2 separate regions of the Homo sapiens genome follow, and region 2 is linked to region 1. The links are contacts of gene promoters, found by promoter capture Hi-C in human tissues and cell types (Jung and others, 2019). All regions are on one chromosome and are shown on one strand. The core of a region is centred on a gene start or on the middle of the fragment in contact, and the rest is flanking DNA. Distances in the headings are between cores, read along the strand shown. Region 1 holds the start of PDE9A (phosphodiesterase 9A). Region 2 holds the start of LINC01671 (long intergenic non-protein coding RNA 1671).

Region 1 (4,089 bases), core at 1-2,500:
AAGCGGGCTACGGTGGGAGAGGGCTGTACTTTCCATTTCACGGGGATCAAGCCGGGCACAGGGTGAGGGAGGCTTGTTGGCTTAAATCTACTGATTAAACTGGCCAAATGCACCTCTGGGAACAGGAAAGACTCAAGCCTGGCCGGCACCTGCTCTGTGCCTGGCTGGGGCATCTCTCCCTGGCCTCCTTCAGTGGAGTACTCCGTGGGCAGAAAGGTGAGAAGCAGCTGCAAGGGCTTCCTGAAACGCCCAGCTGAGGTTTGAGGGATTTCCTCACAATGGCTTTTCCCTGGGGACTTTAGGGGGAGCTCATGAGAGCCCCTTCCAAGCCGGCGCGCTCATTGTCCCTCCCTGCCCGTCAGAGGGGGCCACGAACAAAGGGGGTCTATTCTGAACCCCTCTCCCGTGTAACTCAAGTCCGCTAGGAACGCTGGACATTCGAGGGACTTCCTATCTCCGCACAGCAGGGGAGAGCCGGACCCGCTGCCCCCCAGGCTCTCCGCGGGGCCCCGGAGGTGCAGCGGCCCGAGTCCCCCTCTGCAGTCGGAGCTACTCACCTGCGGGGGAGCAGTGTCCCCGCCGGCGCCCCCCGCACCTGCCCCCGCGCGACAGGAAGCGGCGGCTGCTCGCCCCCTCCGCGGACCACGACCCCGGGGCTGCCCGGCGGGCCGATCCACCGGAAATTAAAGGCTTCATGTGCCAGCCCTTGAATGTAAAAACTCAGCCTAATCAGATTTTCAAAAAGAAAAGCTCTGCCTGTGAAACGGAAACACTAGCCCGCCCCCCCACCCCCCACCCCCCAGGGCGAGTCGCCCCTTTCCCCGGGGAGCCGGCGCGTGGGGACCCCCGCCCCCGACCAGAGCTGGCGGAGCGCACGGAGGCCGCAGCCTGGACCGGCAGACGCACGGACAGTCCCGCCCCGCCGCGCCCGGCCCCGGCGCTGTCACCCGGGGGGAGGAGGGGGTGTCTGGGTGGGGGAGGGGCTACCTTCTGAATGCGTCCATCGATGTCCAGGTAGATGGCCTTGGGCCGGTAGCTGGAGGAGCCGGATCCCATCCTGCGCCCGGCGGCTGCACTCGGACTTTTTACTGTACTTTCCCGACGCCAGCCGCCGCGGGAGGCGGGGGAGGGGAGCAGGGGAGGGGGCGGGCGGGGGGCGGCCCGCGGCGCTCAGCCAACCACAGCCGCGCCGCCACCGGGCCCGGGACGCCCGGGAGCCGCCGCCGCGCGCCGCAGGGTCTCCTCCGCTCGGCTCGCGCTCGGGCTCGGGCTCCGACTCCGGCTCGCGCGCTCCTCCTCCCGGCCGCCCGCCCGCCCCTCCCCCTCCCCCCTCCCCCCTCCCTCCCCCGTCTCTCCTCTCTCCCCTCCTCTTCACTCCCTGCACCTCCCTTCCCCCTCTTTCTTCTTCCCTTGACTCCAGCCCCCGGTCGGCTGCCTATCTCCCGATGCCCCCTGGACAGCTGTGCAGAGCCCTGAGCGACCCCTTCGGCCCGGAGCCGTCGCCTCCCCACGCAGCCCGTCCCTCCTAAGCCAGCGCTGGGCTGAGCGTGGCCGCGCCGCTGTGGACCCCCCAGCCCCGCCGGGAAAACTCCCCTCGCTCCTCTCTCCCTGCTGCGACCGCCACCCTCATTTCATTTGAATAGAAAACGGGAAAAGTTCCTTCTCGGTCACCCACAGCCTTCCCCTAACTAGGGGGCGTCAGCCTCCTCCAGCTGCGCCCGGAGCTGAAATGGCGATTTTATTTCTGTCCTGTATGGGGCCGGACCGAGGATTACCCCGCCACAAGCTATCTGCTGGATTCAGCAGTTTCGTCCCCTCCCCGCTTGTGTGAATTGCTACAGGGAGTGTGGGAAAGGCGGGAGGGGAAGGGGGCTGTGGGCATCCTCTGGATCTGCGGAGCAGGGAAGGGCTGCCTTGGCCGCCCCCAGTTCTCCTGGGCTCCTCCATTGGGAATGGGGTTGGCGGCTGGGGGAGGAGGCTCAGATGCCGTGGTCCTGGCCCTGGGTGCAGGTCGCCTTTGGAAGCAAGTGTCAAAGCCAGCCGGAGCATGTGCTATTGTTTCGTTGGAAGTGAGTTCCAAGCCACCGCTTTCCATCTGTTAAGTGTCTGGGTGCTGCTTATTGAGAGAGTCTGGTGCACCCAGGCTCCTCCCTCCCCTTCGGGCCTGCTGGAGCCGGCCAGCCAGTGCCAGGGCCAGTGGTCACTTCCTCTCCCTCCCCTGGCCAGCCTGGTCTCCACCTGGTGGACGGTCACAGGCTTTACAGACACCCCCAGGGCCATCTGGAGCTCTGGTGGCAGCTGGGGTCCTGGGGAAGGTGAGAGCTCCTTGCCTGTCCGTGGGGGTGGCATCATCCTGTGAGGTAAGTGATCGTCCTCAGCCTTTGGCCAGTCCATCCTGTGTCACTTTATGTCCCCCCACCTGCTCTCATGGCGGGGGGCACGCTCTCAAATAACAACGGCTTGGAACTCGGTACCTTGGCACCCCCTGCCCACAGCTCCAGTGGAGTCCGTGTCAGAGCTTTGGCACCATGAGTTGTGCTTTTCAAGTGACAGGATGAGAAGGGGACAGCCTGGAGGCCTTTGGGGTGGGGAGACCCAGCTGGGTGGTTACAGCGGGCCAGCTGACTCGCCATGGGGATACTGTGTCCCCGGCTCATTGAAGTGAGCACTATTACTAGTAGTTCAATTTGTTGTCAAATGTTCCGATGCTATTTGGGCTAATCCAGAGATCGTGCTGTTGGGACCGCCTGTGCTGCCTGGCATGGAGTTCTTACCAGCAGATGGCTCATTGGCTTGGCACTTAGTTATTCTCCATCCCTTATTGTCATCTGGCCTAGTCTTCTGTAACCATTTCCTCCAAGAGCCCCAGAAGGACGAGTGCCCGCCCATGGGGGGTGGTTCTGCAGGGCAGTTCCCCAGGAGGGTGGAGGGTGTGGCTCTGAGACTCTGTGTGCGTCCAGCACCAGTGCAGGCTGGCCCCTCACACTGCCTGGCTGATTCTGTGCTCAGGAGAATAATCGCATCTATAATTACTTTGCACTTTTAGGAGCTGGACTGGACCCCTGTGTAGATACTGGATCGATGAGGCCTCAGCAGCTGCCTAGAGAGGAACCCTTTCCTCTCCCAGATCCCCATGGAGCAGTGCGGTCTTCCATTCGTCAACAATCTCATTACTGCGTGTTGGGTGCTGTTCTGGGCACTGGGAATTCAGTAGTGAACAGAATAAGCAGAGATCCCTGGCCTGAAGAAGCTGGCATTCTCTGGGGAAGACAGACACGATGGTATAAATAAATAGAATGTGTAGGGTGTTGGATAAAAATTAAGGCAAAGAAGAAAAATCCATAGTGAGACCCCATCTCTAAAAAAGAAAAATCCTGCGGGGAAGGGGATATAGAATGTGCAGTGTGAGGGAATGTGCAGTGTGAGGGAGTTGGAATTTTAGAGAAAGTGGCCAGGCAAAAGGTCACATAGGAGGAGGGATCTTACAGGTGTTAGGAGCAAGGAGCCTGTGTGTGTCAGAGGGAAGGACGTTCTGGCACAGAAGCAGCCTTATGCAGGAGGCCACGTGGCCAGAGCGGAGGGAGGGAGTGGGCTGTGGGGGACCGTAGTGGGCTGTGAGGTCAGAGAGGTGACGGGGGCAACCCCGCGTGGTCACACGAGTGACTTGAGGTCACTCTTCCTCCACTGCATGCCTTGCAGGAGGCGGTGCAGAGGGCCATGGTCTGACGTGGGTTTTCACAGGATCCTCTTGGATGCTGGAGGAGGGTGCATGGAAGGGGCCAGGCAGGGAGGCCAGTGAGCAGCAGCTGCAGTCAGCTTTGCAAAGTGTGATGGGACTTGGACCACGGTCAGGTGGACCCATGAGTTGGGGTCCTTCAGAGAAGCAGACCAATAGTGAGGAGTTGGCTCACATGAGGACGGAGGCTGAGAAGTCCTGCCAGCTACCGCCTGCAAGCCGGAGCCCCGGGAAAGCTGGTGGTGTGGCTCCAGTGCAAGCCTGAGGGCAGCACCCGGGAGCTGATGGTGGGGACCCAGTCCCAGGGCAGGAGAAGGCCAGTGTCCCAGCCCAAGCAGGCAGGTGGGAGGAAA
Region 2 (4,089 bases), core at 452-2,951, 40 kb after region 1:
CTGCGTGTGACTACGTGCAGCCCCAAGCCCCGAGGCGCATCTGATGGGGCAGGAACGGGCTGCAGGTTGCCTTGCTCGGCTCTGCTCCCAGCGTCCTCCATGTTCTGAGCCACTCATTAATCAGCTTCCTCATCTGAAATTGCGAAATCCCCTAAAGCTCAGGTCCTGTGACAACAGGTACGGGCCAGCATTGGGACAGGCTTTGCCTGTAAGAGGGCTGGTCTGGGGGGACATCTGAACCCAATTCAGGAACACCTCACAGGTCTGCCAGCAGGGCTAGACCCGGGGTGAGATCCAGGGCAACAGGGTCTGCCTGGGAAGCTCAGCTCCGGCACTGCCTGGGGCGTCTCTGCCTACACAGGACCATTCCTCTCGCCTGGACTCCTCTTGGAGTTTGCCAAGGTATGTTCAGAAACCGAGACATCAGGGAGTTGACTGCCCAGACCAGCAGTGGGATGTAAAAGTGTTACTTTGTCCCAGAGAAGTCCTCTCTGGAAAAAAAATGTATTCCGAAGTTTGGGTGTGTGAAAATAGCCCTGTGGTGAGTGTGGTTTTCCACTAAAGATGCTTTGATCAGACAAACTCTGTCAACCACGGGAGGGGGTTATGCAGACACACAGATAATACCCTAGCCCAGCGTGGCCCGCTGTACTGGGAACCAGGGCCCTGGATGAGCAGCCAGACCGGAAAGCCTCATTTTCTTCACCTGTAAAATAGAAAACCCCACGTTGACTGTCCTAGGTGGTTGCCAGGATCCAGCTTGGCTAACGACAAAGACCTGTGCGGCTCTGCGGTGTGTTAAGAATCCTTTACCTTCTTATATAGTAGCCTCCTCTTTGTGGTTGCAACAACCTAGGAAGGTTTTCTGTTTTATAAAAAAATTGAGTGCAATGAAATCATCTGTTAAAGTCAAATGTAGGCGGCTTAACCCTGCACCCTGCCAGGAATGAAAACTTGAATGCAATTTATTTTTAAACTGATGATTTAAAGAACAGAAAAAAAGCAGCAACGTTGTAGCCTATAAAAATATTTTATTTATCTGAGGCAAAAATCTTAAAAATATGAGTCCAGAGACTCCTAGGGTTATGGATGCCTAGTTCCTAAATTCTCATAAATCCTCATAAATCCAGTAAGTCCCAGGAGCCTCAGGGCAGCCCCCAAGTGCCCCTATCCCATCTCCTCTGTCAGTTGTGGCTCCTTAATACCACATGGACACCCCCAGAACCACTGGAAGTAAATCCCTGGCCCTGGCGCTGAGAGAATCCTGGGATTTGGAGGGAGAGGGGCTGGAAAGGCAGGACCCCGCTGAGGGAGGCGGCAGTGGAAGTGCCCTCTCCTCAATGACCTTCTCTCTAACTGTTGCCTCCACATCGGTTCCCCAACTTTGCCTTCAGGCTTCCTCTCTGCTCTGTTTCCTTGCCCGAAATGATCAATTCACTTGTTACACCTGTTATAAGAAGAGTCACTTTGAAAACTAAGACAAACTGGCAGGGGATTAGTATGAGTTTGCAGTTTCTTCCCTCCCTCAACTCTGAACGGAGGTGGCCAGCAAGGAGAGAATTTGAGGTTTTATTATTGGAGGGAACGGTTGGATTTGGGAGCATGGGGCACTTTGAGCAGGGAGGACAGGGTGGATGGGGACCCTTCATTGGGTCCCGAGCACCTCAGGAAGGCCCAGGGCACCTGGAGAGTTTGGAATAAGGGAAGCAGTGTGCTCAGAATGCAGAGAGGTGGGTGATGTGGTTTGGCTCTGTGTCCCTACCCAAATCCATGTTGAATTATAATTCTCCAGTGTTGGAGGTGGGGCCTGGTGGGAGGTGACTGGATCATGGCGTGGTTTCTAATAGTTTAGTACCATCCCCCGGTGCTGTCTCTTGATAGAGTTCTTCCAAGACCTGGTTGTTTAAAAGTGCCTAGCACGACCAGCCCCCAACTTCATTCTCTTCCTCCTGCTCTGCCACGTGAAGAAGGTGCTTGCTTCCCCTTCACTCTTCTGCCATAATTGTAAGTTTCCTGCGGCGCTCCCAGCCATGCTTCCTATACAGCCTGCAGAACTATGAGTCAATTCAACTGCTTTTTTTCATAAATTACCCAGTCTCAGGTAGTTCTTTATAGCAGTGTAAGAACAGACTAATACAGCGGGCACATGCCAACCCCAGGGAAGGCCTGTCTGACATTTTCTCCTGGGGTCCTTCATGCGTGAGGGCCCTAGCATGAGAGGGGGCACATTTCTTTCTCCTGTAGTTCTCTTTCTATCTGTACCTGCTGCTTCCATAACACAGAATTTGGGCCACTGCTGTAGCCTCCGTAGCTCAGCCCCATGAGGGGTTCCTGTGGGTTGGCCTGTCAGGCATGGAAACATGCATTCTGAACTCTAGACAACCCGTGGACTCAGAATCTTTGGAATGCATCATATTCAGACTTTTTGGTTAGTCTGTGCTCAAGCATCCAAACTTTTTAAAAAGTTTGACCAAATTGTTTTTTCCCACTTGTATTCAAGAGTATAGAACAGCATAACCAGGCTGTCAAAGTGAGAAAATACGAAGCTATGATGTATTGGTGTCAGAAGAAGATGAGCTATTTTTAAATTTCTACTGAGCATGACAGTATAAAGCTTCTCTTTCTAGTAATGGTGAACTAAGCAATATGGACCAACCTTCTTTTGGCAGATAGCCAGAAACTTTTGAACAAAATACTTAAAAAAAAAAAATACTTGAATACTGATGGGCTAGTGAGATAGCAAAAAACTACTGGGCCAACATGAGGAAGAAGATAAAAATTCAGGCAAATGAACCCAGCATTTGGGGCAATTTTTCCTTGGGAGTGTTTTTTTAGTCATGGAAGAGATGGTTAAGAGGTGGAGCCATATGTTTTTGCCATTCTGTAGGAATAAAGGACAAAATTTAGCATCTGAGACACTCCAATTTTGAGGGTGGGGGTCTTAGCAACCCTTCTTCTTCACATTAGGACTTTGAAGAATTACATCTAAGGAAAAAAAAAAAGCCGGAAATAGACAAATCATTTCAATAACTTTATTTCAGTTTTTAGATATCTCGAGGGTCCAGAAAAATCTCAATTTCTAAAATTAGATTAAGATGATTCCAGATTGTGAATATACCCAGTTGCTTGGTAGTTACAAAAAATTTGCAGAGAAAGAGTGTATCAGCAGATTGTGTCCACAAAATGTATTTTTTTTTCCAAATACAATGTCTAGCACACAATCTAAAATAAGCAAACACACAAAAAGAAAAGACAGTGTGGACAAGAATCCACAGAAACGAGGACAATAAAATTCAACCATCATGGGCTCCAGATACTGAAATTAACCAGGTAAAGCTTTTCTTTTTATTTTATTTTAATTTTTTTTGAGGCAGAGTCTCACTTTGTCACCCATGCTGGAGTGCAGTGGGGTGATCTCGGCTCACTGCAACTTTTGACCCCAGGGTTCAAGTGATTCTCCTGCTTCAGCCTCCCAAGTAGGTGGGATTACAAGTACATGCCACCATGCCCGGCTAATTTTCATATTTTTACTAGAGATGGGGTTTTGCCATGTTGGCCAGGCTGGTCTTGAACTCCTGACCTCAGGAGTTCCTGACCTGAACTTGAGACCGCCTGCCTTGGCCTCCCAAAGTGCTGGGATTACAGGCATGAGCCACTGTGCCCAGCCAACCAGGTAAAGCTTTTAAATAGGTAAGACCGTTAAACTATTTTAGAAAGACATGACAGATTTGAAAAAGTTCATATACAAATTTAAGAACTGCAATATATAATTTTGAAATTAAGAACTCAATGGATGGGTTTAACAGAACATTGGGCCAGCTAATAAGAAAATTAGTGAACTTGAAAATGGATAAAAGAAATTATCCAGGCCTGGCACGGTGGCTCACACCTGTAATCCCAGCACTTTGGGAGGCCGAGGTGGGTGGATCACTTGAGGTCAGGAGTTCCAGACCAGCCTGGTCCACATGGTGAAATCCTGTCTCTACCAAAAATATATTTTAAAAAATTAGCCAGATGTGGTGGCTTACGCCTGTAATCCCGGCTACTCAGAATGCTGAGGCAAAAGAATCCCTTGAACCTGAGAGGTGG

Evidence for each region. The method cuts DNA at HindIII sites, captures the fragments that hold promoters and counts their contacts. A contact is called where the count stands out against the background at its distance.
Region 2: a contact is called between a fragment that was not itself captured here and the fragment with the promoter of PDE9A in region 1, in 4 of the 25 tissues and cell types used here (IMR-90 fibroblasts, aorta, dorsolateral prefrontal cortex and 1 more).

What each region holds. Positions count from the first base shown.
Region 1 is chr21:42,650,782-42,654,870 of GRCh38, reverse strand. PDE9A (phosphodiesterase 9A) reads right to left here and starts at 1,250. Exons shown (of 20, transcript NM_002606.3): 1 at 988-1,250. The coding sequence starts at 1,056. LOC101928255 (a long non-coding RNA gene) reads left to right here and starts at 1,213. Exons shown (of 3, transcript XR_244322.4): 1 at 1,213-3,281. RefSeq lists an enhancer at 1,565-2,286. The HindIII fragment of the contact is 36,096 bases long and covers 1-4,089 here.
Region 2 is chr21:42,611,166-42,615,254 of GRCh38, reverse strand. It overlaps LINC01671 (long intergenic non-protein coding RNA 1671), which reads left to right and starts at 160. Exons shown (of 2, transcript NR_131192.1): 1 at 160-402. The HindIII fragment of the contact is 3,614 bases long and covers 1-3,508 here.